Regions from separate parts of the Homo sapiens genome. Here all the other regions are linked to region 3. The links are contacts of gene promoters, found by promoter capture Hi-C in human tissues and cell types (Jung and others, 2019). All regions are on one chromosome and are shown on one strand. Each heading gives the region's core, a stretch centred on a gene start or on the middle of the fragment in contact. The rest is flanking DNA. Distances are from core to core; before and after follow the strand shown. Region 1 overlaps DMC1 (DNA meiotic recombinase 1). Region 2 holds the start of TOMM22 (translocase of outer mitochondrial membrane 22). Region 3 holds the start of MAFF (MAF bZIP transcription factor F).

Region 1 (3,727 bases), core at 823-3,322, 360 kb before region 3:
GGCTCTAGTGAGCCGCGATCATGCCACTGCACTCTAGCCTGGGTGACGCAGAGAGAAACCTTGTCTGAAAAAAAAAAATTAAGGAATTACTAAATTTAAGTGTGATAGTGGGAATATGGTTGTTAAAGATGAGAGTCTTCATCTTCATCTTTTAGGGATACATACTGAAATATTTATAATGAAATGATATGTTGCTTAGTATATGCTTAAAATAATATGGGAAGGGAGGTAAATGGTTAGTGGTCTATATGAAAAAAGATTTACCCTGAGTTCATAGTTGACGATTGTTGAAGCTGAGTGATAGACACGATGGTTCATTATTTTTTTTCTACATTTGTTTATGCTTGATATTTTCTATAATAAAAGATTAATATATAATATATGTTATTTTTATGTGTATATGTGTGTGTGTACATAGAGAGTGAGAATATAATTCAACTATTTCTTACCACCTCTACTGTTACCTCACTGGACTAAACTACCACCTATTAATATCTCCCCTGGATTATTATAATAACCTCTAATTAACCTCCCTCCTTGAGACCTTGCCCCTACTGTTTTGTTTTTTTTTTTAATTCACTAAAGAGCCAGAATGGTCACTTTAAAACATAGGTTAGGCTGGAATGCAGTGGCTCATAACACCCTGATGATTCCCCCTCTCACTCAGAAAAGAAGCCAAAGTCCTCTCCCATCTCTAATATTTCACTTTTCTAGTTTTCTATGTACCAGCCATAGTGACCTCTTTGCTATTCCCAGAATATGTCAGATACACTCCTGCATCAGGGCCTTTGCACTTTGTGCTGCCTCTGCCTATCATATTCTTTCCTCTTAGATCTACATGGCTTGCTGTCATCTCTTTCAGGTCTTGGCAAAAATGTCCATGTCTCAATGAGAACTTCTCTGATCACTTTATTTGACAGTATAACCTCCTAACTTTCATACTCTGTCTTCCTTGTCCCCTTTCCTGGCCTTATTTTTATCCATACCATTTAATAACATCTGATGTACTACATATTTTACTTATTTGTGTTTATTTTTTATTTTATTTATTTATTTTTTTTTTCAGACGGAGTCTTGCTCTGTCACCCAGGCTGGAGTGCAGTGGCATGATCTCAGCTCACTGCAACCTCTGCTGCCCAGGTTCAAGCGATTCACCTGCCTCAGCCTCCCGAGTAGCTGGGATTACAGGTGCCCGCCACCACGCCCGGCTAATTTTTGTACTTTTAGTAGAGACAGGGTTTCAGCATCTTGGCCAGGCTGGTCTTGAACTCCTGATCCCATGATCCACCGCTTCAGCCTCCCAAAGTGCTGGGATTACAGGTGTGAGCTACCGGCGCCTGGCCTATTTGTGTTTATTATCTAATCTCTCACTAGATTGTAAACTTCGTGAGAGAAAAAAATTCTGTCTCTTTTGTTCTCTAGTTTATCCCAAGTGCACAAAACAATCCCTGGCATAAACTAGGTGTGCAATAAATATTTGTTGAATGACTAAATGAATGAATAAACAAATAGTGAATAAGTTTGAGAAGTACCATATACTATATATTCTTCTTGAAGAGTCACAGCGCACACTAGCCTGTGAAATCCTGCAGTGACACAAAACACCTGTTTTGGCAGGGCACGGTGGCCCACACCTGTAATCACAGCACTTCGGGAGGCCAAGATGGGTGGATCACCTTAGGTCAGGAGTTCTAGACCAGCCTGGCCAACATGGTGAAACCCTGTCTCTACTAAAAATTACCAAAAAAATGGCTGGGCACGGTGGCTCACACCTTTAATCCCAGCGTTTTGGGAGGCCGAGGCGGGTGGATCACTTGAGATCAGGAGTTCGAGACCAGCCTAACCAACATGGAGAAACCCCGTCTCTACTAAAAATACAAAAAATTAGCCGGGCATGGTGGCATGTGCCTGTGGTCACAGCTACTCGGGAGGCTGAGGCAGGAGAATCGCTTGAACCTGGGAGATGGAGGTTGTGGTGAGCCGAGATCGTGCCACTGCACTCCAGCCTGGGCAATAGAGTGAGACTCAGTCTCAAAAGAAAAAAAGAAAAAGAAAATACCTGTTTAACCCAGCATTGTCCCAGACTTTTAAAATCACATACCCTTTTTTCAAGTAAAGTTAAGGAAGAGGCTTGGAGAAATCCTACCCCTAGGCAAATTGGTCAAAATGAGGTTGATCAACAAAACACTTGATTCAAATGACAATCTGATTTTCTTTAGTTACTCTACCACATGGTGGTCTAAGAACCACTGGGCTAAAGAAATAATTACTGTTATTGTGAGTTTTCTGGTGCCCTTGATGTTTGCTCTTGAGAACAGAAAAGATCATTCAGGAGCTAGGTTTTTTTTTGTTGTTTGTTTGCTTTTGAGACAGAGTCTTGCTGTGTCGCCCAGGCTGGAGTGCAGTGGCATGATCTCGGCTCACTGCAACCTCCGCCTCCTGGGTTCAAGCAATTCTCCTGCCTCAGCCTCCTGAGTAGCTGGGACTACAGGTGTGTGCCACCACACCGGGCTAATTTTTGTATTTTTAGTAGAGACAGAGTTTCACCATGTTGGCCAGGCTGGCCTCGAACTCCTGACCTCAGATGATCCACTTGCCTCGGCCTCCCAAAGTACTGGGATTACAGATGTGAGCCACTGCGCCCAGCCAGGAGCTAGGTTTTTAAAAATTAATATTTAATTAATTAAAATATTATACATTTTTCCTTAAGCTTTAAGTCCCTTTATAAATCTAGCACATTTTAAGGGTGCTTTTATAACAAGATTAAATTCTCTTAAACATTTTAATTATGTTTATACATTTAGTGTATTGTATTTTCTTTAAGAACTTTATTTGTTGGCCAGGTGCACTGGCTCACACCTGTAATCCCAACACTTTGGGAGGCTGAGGCGGGTGGATCACAAGGTCTCTACTAAAGACAGGATCACCCTGTCTCTACTAAAAATACAAAAATTAGCCGGGCATGGTGGCGGGTGCCTGTAATCCCAGCTACTCAGGAGGCTGATGCAGAGAATTGCTTGAATCCAGGAGGCAGAGGTTGCAGTGAGCCAAGATCACGCCACTGCATTCCAGCCTGGGCGACAGAGTGAGACTCCGTCTCAAAAAAAAAAAAAAAAAAAAAAAAGAACTTTGTCTAATTATCTAATTATTAACAGCAAAATCTTCCCAATTACCTAAATATCTTTTGTAACTCAAATAAATTTAGAAGTATAGTGAGTTGTAGGCACCATTAAATGTTCAAATACTATTTATAAAATTAGTTATCAACTTGAAAATTGAAGGAATGTACCATTTAATCAGTCAGAGGCCAATCCATTACAAAAAGGTCAAATTATCTTAAACGTTAAAAGGTCTCAAATAGCAAATATGCACAGGTTATTACCAAATTTATTTATTTATATTCTATTTTATTTTTTGAGACACGGTCTCACTCTGTCACCCAGGCTAAAATGCAGTGGCTCCATCACGGCTCACTGCAGCCTGAGTAGATGGGACTGCAGGCACAGGCCAGCATACCTGGCTAATTTTGGTATTTTCTGTAGAGACTGGGTTTCGCCATGTTATCCAGGCTGGTCTTGAACTCCCAGGCTCGAGCGATCCACCTCCCTCGGCCTCCCAAAGTGCTAAGATTACAGACATGAGCCACCATGCCCATATTGCCAAATTTAATATGAAAATAGTAATCTATGGGTTTGATTTGTGTCTCTATTTTTAAATCTCCCTATAT
Region 2 (3,775 bases), core at 902-3,401, 480 kb before region 3:
TGAAAGGAGTCGGGTGACCAGAGCTGGAATAACCATCTGCATGGCTGCACTCTGGTATCAGAGTGGAGACAGAAGTAAGGATAGTGTGGAGGGCACAGTTGCAAGTTGAGTCTTTCCATGAGACAATGTGGGGATAATTCTCCCCACCAGGTTTAGATAGATCAATGTGCCAAAGTTAAAAAAAAAAAAAAATCCAAATTATCAGCAGTTCAAACACTTGAATTTCAAACTTATCCCACTGAGACAGCTCAAACAGCAATAACAATCTAGATCTTTCCAGGAAGTGAGGGTAGAGCCCCTGGCATTCCTCCTGAGAGCCCTGTGTTAGGTCCTAGAAGTATCTGGAAAAGAAAAGGAGGGGTGTAAGGCATCATACAGGCCTAGAGAGCTTATTCTCACCATACCTGATGGGGCCAACGTCTACAAAAATAATACTGAAAGCACAGTCAGACAACTAAAAGAGCATGGGCCCGATCCCAATCCCCACCCACACATTAACTGTTGGTCAACTCAGGTGCTACAACAGGAGCCCTCAACCCCTGGGCTGTGGACTGGCACTGGCCCATGGCCTGTTAGGAGCTGAGCCACACAGCAGTAGATCAGCAGCAGGCAAGTGAGAGAAGCTTCATCTGTGTTTACTGCTGTTCACCATCGCTCACATTACTGCCTGAGCTCCACCTCCTGTCAGATCAGCAGCAGTGTTAGATTCTCATAGGAACACAAACCCTTGTGAACAGTGCATGCGAGGGATCTAGGTTGCAAGCTCCTTATGAAAATCTAATGCCTGATGATCTGTCACTGTCTCCCATCACCCCCAGACAGGACTGTCTAGTTGCAGGAAAACAAGCTCAGGGCTCCCACTCATTCTACGTTATAGAATTATTTCATTATATATTACAATGTAATAATAGAAATTCAGTGCACAATAAATGTAATGCACTTGAATCATCCAGAACCCCCCCCCCGACCCCCGGCCACCCCCAACCCACCATCCATGTAAAAACTGTGTTCCATGAAACCAGTCCCTGGTGCCAAAAAGGTTGGGGACCAATGTGTTAGTGAAATAACTTGCGTCTCCACCACTGGCAAAAAGCCCAAGGTCTGGGCTCACCTGCCGCTGCTGCAGTTGCTGCTGTTGCTCCATTTGCAACTTCTCCGTCTCAAAGACAACGGGAAGAACCAGGATCATAAAGGAAGTGGTCCCAATCCACAAGGCTGCCCTGGAAAACCTGCAGAGGAAAATCCCCAGAGGGTGAGCATGAAGACATGCAAACAAAACAGGCAAGAACTACCCAGTAACCAAACCTCTCACATTACATACTCCAATGTTTTTGATAAACGTATTCTACCCGCTCCTTACACCATACTCCTACCAGAGACAGGAGGAGCAGCTATGGTAGCTGTATCATCTAGTGATGGCGGTTTAACATTCTCCTGAGTTCTTACAAAGCTCCTTATTCATTAATTATCTCCAACAATCTGAAATAACCCCCACAACTCCCCTGCCAGGTAAGAATCCCCATTTTACAGAAGAGGAAACTAAGAAAGGATAGGGTACAAGCCCAAGGTCACCCAACACGGGTCTGCTGCTTCCAAACCCCGTGTTCTTTCACAGCACCACGACCATCCCATGCACGTACCCAGTGCCTTTGCCCTCGTTCCTTACCTGTACATTTTCTGAGCCACAAAGAGGGAAAGATCAAAAGTGGCTCCGGCCGCGGACCGGACCCTCTCCGGAAACATCTCCGTCAGGCCCCATAGTCTCTCCGACAGGGTCTCATCTAGCTGTGGTGGAGTAGACGCGGGTCTTAGCCGAAAAAGCGACATCCATTCCTGGCCCCGCTGCGGCACTGGGAGCCGCCGAGCCCCACTGGAGCTAGGGCACCCAGGGCCCAGCAGGGCCCCTAACCCCGCCTCCCAAAGCAGCCGCTTCGCTCCGATCCCGTACCACGCGGATCCCACACCCACGAGCGGGCCCGCTTCCCGCTCTGCACCCCGCGAGGCCCTAGTACCTCCTCATCGTCGTCCTCCTCCAGCTCCTCCTCAGGCTTCTCCGCGTCGCCTTTCGGGAGCAATTCGTCCGGGGACTGGGGTTCCCCTGCACCGGCAGCAGCGACGGCGGCAGCCATGACTGTAGGGGACACCGGAAGCGGAAAGGAGGTGAGCGCAGCCGAACGGCGGACAGAGCTGCTTTTCCGGGAGCCGAGGCGCGAGCCGGGCGAGAGCGGCGCCCTCTAGCCCCGGGTCCTCCAGTGCCCGCAGCGGGTCCGGCAGCCCTGGCCTTATCCGGGCGTCGGGGCTTCGGCGGGCATTAGCAGCAGCTGAGAGGCCTGTGAGAGGTTCTGGGGCGCCACCGCAGTCATTCTGTTCAGCGGGTATAGGGTGAGCTCAGAAACTTGCTTGTTTTTCTTTTTTTCAAATGCGTTGTTTTAATTCCAGGTAATAGAGTTCAGGGGAGAACAAAGATCAAAGGGCTGACTCTGGCAAGATTCTGGGGGCTTGTTTTACTTTAAGTTCACAGCTAAGGTAGGAGTGGCTGAGTGAAAACAACTCAAGAGATGATGAGCCACTGTATTTTTTTTTTTAACAAAAGTTTATTCTTAAATTTACAACAGGCTCCAAGACAACACTTTATTCGAGCATAGGTGGCCAAAGATGTGGCCGGGAATAGAGATGTTTAAAGACGAATGGAGTCAGGCCCACCATCACCGCAGGCCCAAGGGACAGTGGAACAGGTCGCTTTTTGTAAGATTTTAGCTTTTTGTTGTTGTTGTTGTTGTTGGTTTTGTTTTGAGACGGAGTCTCGCTCTGTCGCCCAGACTGGATGGAGTGCAGTGGTGTGATCCCGGCTCACTGCAAGCTCCGCCTCCCAGGTTCAAGCGATTCTCCTGCCTCAGCATGCACCACCAACCACGCCCCGCTAATTTTTTGTATTTTTAGTAGAGACGGGGTTTCACCATTTGGCTAGGCTGGTTTTGAACTCCTGACCTCAAGTGATCTGCCCGCCTCGGCCTCCCAAAGTGCTGGCATTACAGGCATCAGCCACCGCACCTGGCCTATATATAGTTATATATTATATATAATATATATTTTATGTGTGTGTATATATATACGTATATATGTATATATATGTATATATGTGTATATATGTATATATGTGTATATAGGTATGTGTATATATGTATATATATACATACGTATACATATATACGTATTATGTATATATACATACACACATATACACACACACACACACACACACATACATATATATATAAAGACAGGGTTTCACTGTGTTGCCTAGGCTGGTCTTGAACTCCGAGACTCAAGCAATCCGACTGCCTCAGCCTCCCCAAGTCCTAGGATTACAGGCCTATGCCACTGCGCCCCACCTTGCCGGATTTCTTAATTCGGCCTGTGACCAGGGCCAAAGATTTATCTTCCTTGTCCATCTCCTTGGCCTGCTTCTTGGGCTGTTTTAGAGAGACACTGATCCAGTTTCGTTTTCCTGAGCCATGTTTTACTTGGTAGGAATAAATTAGTGTCTTGCAGGTCTTTTGGGAAAACATCAGGTAAATCTTCCCTATGTACCAAACAAAGGTAAGAGTTAACACCTAAATACCAGGTGCTCTGGTGCCTGTGGGTGTGGGTGGGTGCGGTGTGTCCTCCTTTAATCTTCACAGCAGCTCACTGGGGTAGGCACTGTTATCCCCATTTTAGAAATGAGGAAACTGAGGCATAGTACATAGATTTCTAGTAAGTAGGTGAGCTGGTC
Region 3 (3,935 bases), core at 941-3,440:
TCTGTTCATCTCATCCCTGGCATCTGGTCCAGGACAAGGGCCCAATGGCAATGCAGGGCCCAGGGGTGATTCAATGGGAAGTTAAACTTCTCAGTGCTAACTTTCCATCTGGGACTGAGTCAACCAGCCACTTCCCCTCATCCCCTGACCCCAGGCCCTACTTTGTAATGTTTCCTGCCCAGCTTTGAGGGTGGGCCTGTCTGGTTCCTGTGCTCCTGGCCCCAACCCTCCTGACTCAAACCCCACCTACTCTTGGGTACCCCCAGCTCCTGGCATGGGGCTGTCAGCCCTGCTTTCTCTTCCACAATTCACCTGGAAAATACGCTGTCTGCACAGACTTCCAGAGCTTCCCCCTTCTACCCACCATCCTGCCATCCTGGCTGTTACCTAGTTCCCAGTGGTAGATGGGAATACTGAGGGTCCGGGCTGCTGTAGCAGAGCTCACCCAGGGTTCAAAGATCCAAAGTCAAAAGATCATTGGTTCCTCACCCTAGCAAGTTCAATTGCTCCCCTCCCACAATTCCATAGACCGTGGGTGGGTGGGTGGAGGGGGAAGGTGGATTAAGACCAAGGAATCTCTAGCCCCCAGCCCATCCTGCAGGCGGCTACGACAAACAGGTGCTTTCTGCAGGGCTATTGGGTGAGTGGGTGGGTGGCGGCTAGGTCAGGCCCCACCCCTCACTCATTAACCCTCCGTGCAGTCAGAGTTCTATCCCCAATGCCTACTGACCCTGCCTGGCCCAGGGTGAGGGCACTCGGGGTCTGTCGGCTGGCTCAGAGCCTCAGCTAGCTTCCGGCGTCCAGCTGTAGGTCAGTCTAGTCTCACCAGTCCCACTTGTGAACTGAAACTACCAGGAGAGCGGAAACCGGCTCCGCCCCATCCTCCACGACCTAGCAGGTACAGCCTCCAGAACCCGGACTAGCTAAAAGCCTGTGGTCCTCTCCCTGCGCCGCACCCTTGCAGTCAAGGTTTTCTGGCCCTTCCTGTTCTCATGGGACTGAGGGGATGGGCAACCCTGGGGACGAACGAGAGTCCCTTGGTTCTTCCCTCCCCAGGAAGCCCCAAAATCTGGGGACAAGAACCTGGGCTCCAACTCACTTTGTTACCAGATCCACCGGGGTGCCAAGCGGGGGTGGCTCACATCCCTCACTCCTAGCTCAGCTGGGTGGGGTCTTTGATACCTTGCCCCACCCTGTGGCTGCGGGCGCGGGCTCTGGGCGGGAGACAAACACTGGGGTCACGTGGCGGAGGCCCTGGGAAACTCCGGGGAGAGCCGGGGACGGACAGCCCCGGGTAGTAGGACTGGGGCGGCCCGGGCCAGAATTCCCAGACCCCGTGCGAAGACGCACGGGTCCGCTTCCTTCGCTCGGGTCCTTGTTCCGCGTTTACTCCGGTGGCCGGCCCAGGGCACGCCCTCTCCGAGGTACACACTGCTGGTGTACAGGCCCCAGGGAGCGCGCGCGCGGACACGCACACACAAGCACAACACACGCACACACGCCCCCGAGGTACACAGCGCACGCACGCACCGGGCAGGATACCCAGGCCGCCCGCCAGGGAACACACGCCCGCCCTCGGACGTAAACAAACCGCGCACGCACCGCCCGCGGGCGCCGGGCCAGGGCCTGTTCCCACCGAGTCACGTAGGAGCACAGCGCCCCCGCCCCCGCCGGGCGGACGCGGAGATCGCCGGCCTGCGCTGCCCCTTCCTCCCGGCGCCGCCGCCTACCCGCCCGCGCCCCGGGAAGGGGCCCCGTCTCCACCCCCACTCCCCCGAGCTGGCCTCGGCCCCGTCCTCGGCGTCCCCGGGACGGCCGCTCCCTTCTCCCCGCCCCGAGCCGTCCGGGCGATGGAGCTCCGGGAGCCCCGACGGATCGGGCCCGGGCGCCCACCCCAGGCGCATCCCGGGACGCAGAAACCCTGCCGCCTTGGGGTCCCGCGCACCGTCCTCCTGGTCCCGCGTTCCTCACCCGCTTCTGGGCCCGCTTGGTCCGGCGCGCTCACACACGCGCGTCTCGCCGCTGTCCCGGCCGCTGTCCCGATCCGCGCTCCGGTCAGTCTCCCCTCCGCTCTGAGCCGCAGGTCGCTCTGAACCGGGCGCCCGGGAGCGCTGCGCTGAGTTTTGTTGTGGGGCGGGCGGCGCAGGGGGCCGAGGCCGCGCGGAGTTGTAAGGCGAGCTTCCCGGAATTACTCACTCACAGGATTCCTTTCATTCATAAAAACCCAGTCATGCGGTGACGTCACCGACCCGGCCGCCCTCCGGCCAGGAGCGGCCGCTTGGTCCCTCGGCCCCGCCCCCGTATGACCCCGCCCCCTGGAAGCCCCGCCCCCGGGGCTGCCGCGATTCTCTGCCTGGTTCCAGGGCTCGCTGGGTGCGTTCACGTGACACCTCGCGAGAGCCCCGTGGGTGTAGGTGTCATTGGCTCATTTTACAGGTAGTGGTCCTGGCCCTCTTCTTTCGACCTAGACCTTCTGCCTTAATGATCTCATCCAGTCCCGTGGCTTTAAATGACATTTATATGGCTATGAGCCCCAGGTTTGTATTTCCGGAGCGAACAGCTTCTCTGAGTTCCAGACTCATAGCCAGCTGCCCACTCTGCGCATCCAGTGGGTGTCAGATGGGCACTGCAGAGGACTCGGCCCAAAAACCCGCTCCTGATCGTCAGCCCTACCTCTGCTCCCTTGCCACCCCATCTCAGCTGCTCAAGCCAAAACCTTGGAGCCTGGCTCCATCCCTCCCTCTCCCTTCCTCCCCACCTCAGGACTCAAGCTAGCGGTGTCTCCAGGTCTCCTGCATAGGACCATTTCTCACCACCTCCAGTCATGGCACCTGGTCTCGGCACCATCAGCTTACCCGGACAATGGCAGCAGCCTCCGAGGCTCCCTACTTTGCCTCCAAAGTCTTTCTTTCTATACCAGCCAATGTTCTTCTCAAAACAAAGCTCAGGTTGTTTACACACCTTCTTTGGCCACTCTCTCCTCATCCACTGCTCTTCGGCCACAGTGCCCTTCTTTCTGTCCCCCAAACATACCAAGCTCATTCCTGCGACAGGCCCTTGGCACTGGCTGTCTGGTCTTCTGTTCACTTGCCTGACTCTTTCTCATCTTTCACGTCAGCCCGGATGTCACTGCCTCAGAGAGACATTTCCTGACCACCCTGGTTAAAGCAGTCTTCACCTCTGAATTTTTTTTTTTTTTTCGAGACAGGGTCTCACTCTGTCACCCAGGCTGGAGTGCAGTGGCACAATCTCGGCTCACTGCAACCTCCTTCTCCTGGACTCCAGCCATTCTCCCACCTTAGCCTCCCAAGTAGCTGGGACCATAAGCACACACCACCATGCTAGGTTCATTTTTTGTATTTTTTTTTTTTTTTTTTTTTTTTTTTTTTTGTAGAGACAGGGTTTTGCCATGTTGCCCAAACTGGTCTCAAACTCCTGGACTCAGGCAATCCACCCACGCTGGCCTCCCAAAGTAATGGGATTACAGGCGCAAGCCACCGCACCCAGCCTTGAAATTTGTTCTTATATTATCTTAATACTTCTGTAGGGTGTTTCATCATTTATGTATGTGAGTGCTGGTTATTGTCTGTCTTCCCCAACCAGAATGTATGTTTTATGAAGGCAGGCCTTGCTTCTTTTTCTTTTTCTTTTTTTTTTTTTGAGACAGAGTCTCACTCTGTTGCCCAGGCTGGAGTGCAGTGGCATAATCTTGGCTCACTGCAACCTCCGCCTCCCAGGTTCAAGGAATTCAGCCCCCCAGTAGCTGGACTACAGGTGAGTCACCATGCCCAGCCAGGCTGGTTTTGAACCCCTGACCTCAGGCCACCCACCTCGGCCTCCCAAAGTGTTGGGATTGCAGACATGAGCCACTGCGCCTGGCCAGGCTTATCTTGTTCACCACTGCCTGCCCAGTGCCTGGAGTAGTGCTTGGCACA

Evidence for each region. The method cuts DNA at HindIII sites, captures the fragments that hold promoters and counts their contacts. A contact is called where the count stands out against the background at its distance.
Region 1: a contact is called between a fragment that was not itself captured here and the fragment with the promoter of MAFF in region 3, in 3 of the 25 tissues and cell types used here (dorsolateral prefrontal cortex, hippocampus and lymphoblastoid cells).
Region 2: the fragment with the promoter of TOMM22 here is called in contact with the fragment with the promoter of MAFF in region 3 in 1 of the 25 tissues and cell types used here (lymphoblastoid cells).

What each region holds. Positions count from the first base shown.
Region 1 is chr22:38,557,354-38,561,080 of GRCh38, reverse strand. All of the region lies in intron 5 of DMC1 (DNA meiotic recombinase 1), which reads left to right. Among named protein-coding and RNA genes, the nearest start is that of DMC1, 11 kb to the left of the region's middle. The HindIII fragment of the contact is 5,518 bases long and covers 1-3,727 here.
Region 2 is chr22:38,680,333-38,684,107 of GRCh38, reverse strand. TOMM22 (translocase of outer mitochondrial membrane 22) reads right to left here and starts at 2,151. Exons shown (of 4, transcript NM_020243.5): 1 at 2,013-2,151; 2 at 1,667-1,785; 3 at 1,112-1,229; 4 at 1-341. The coding sequence starts at 2,129. The coding sequence ends at 267. TOMM22-DT (TOMM22 divergent transcript) reads left to right here and starts at 2,252. Exons shown (of 2, transcript XR_007068097.1): 1 at 2,252-2,382. RefSeq lists silencers at 1,808-1,857, 2,248-2,317 and enhancers at 2,048-2,117, 1,164-2,363. The HindIII fragment of the contact is 12,362 bases long and covers 1-3,775 here.
Region 3 is chr22:38,200,249-38,204,183 of GRCh38, reverse strand. MAFF (MAF bZIP transcription factor F) reads right to left here and starts at 2,190. Exons shown (of 3, transcript NM_012323.4): 1 at 1,972-2,190. RefSeq lists silencers at 604-683, 1,534-1,973, 2,034-2,363. The HindIII fragment of the contact is 8,533 bases long and covers 798-3,935 here.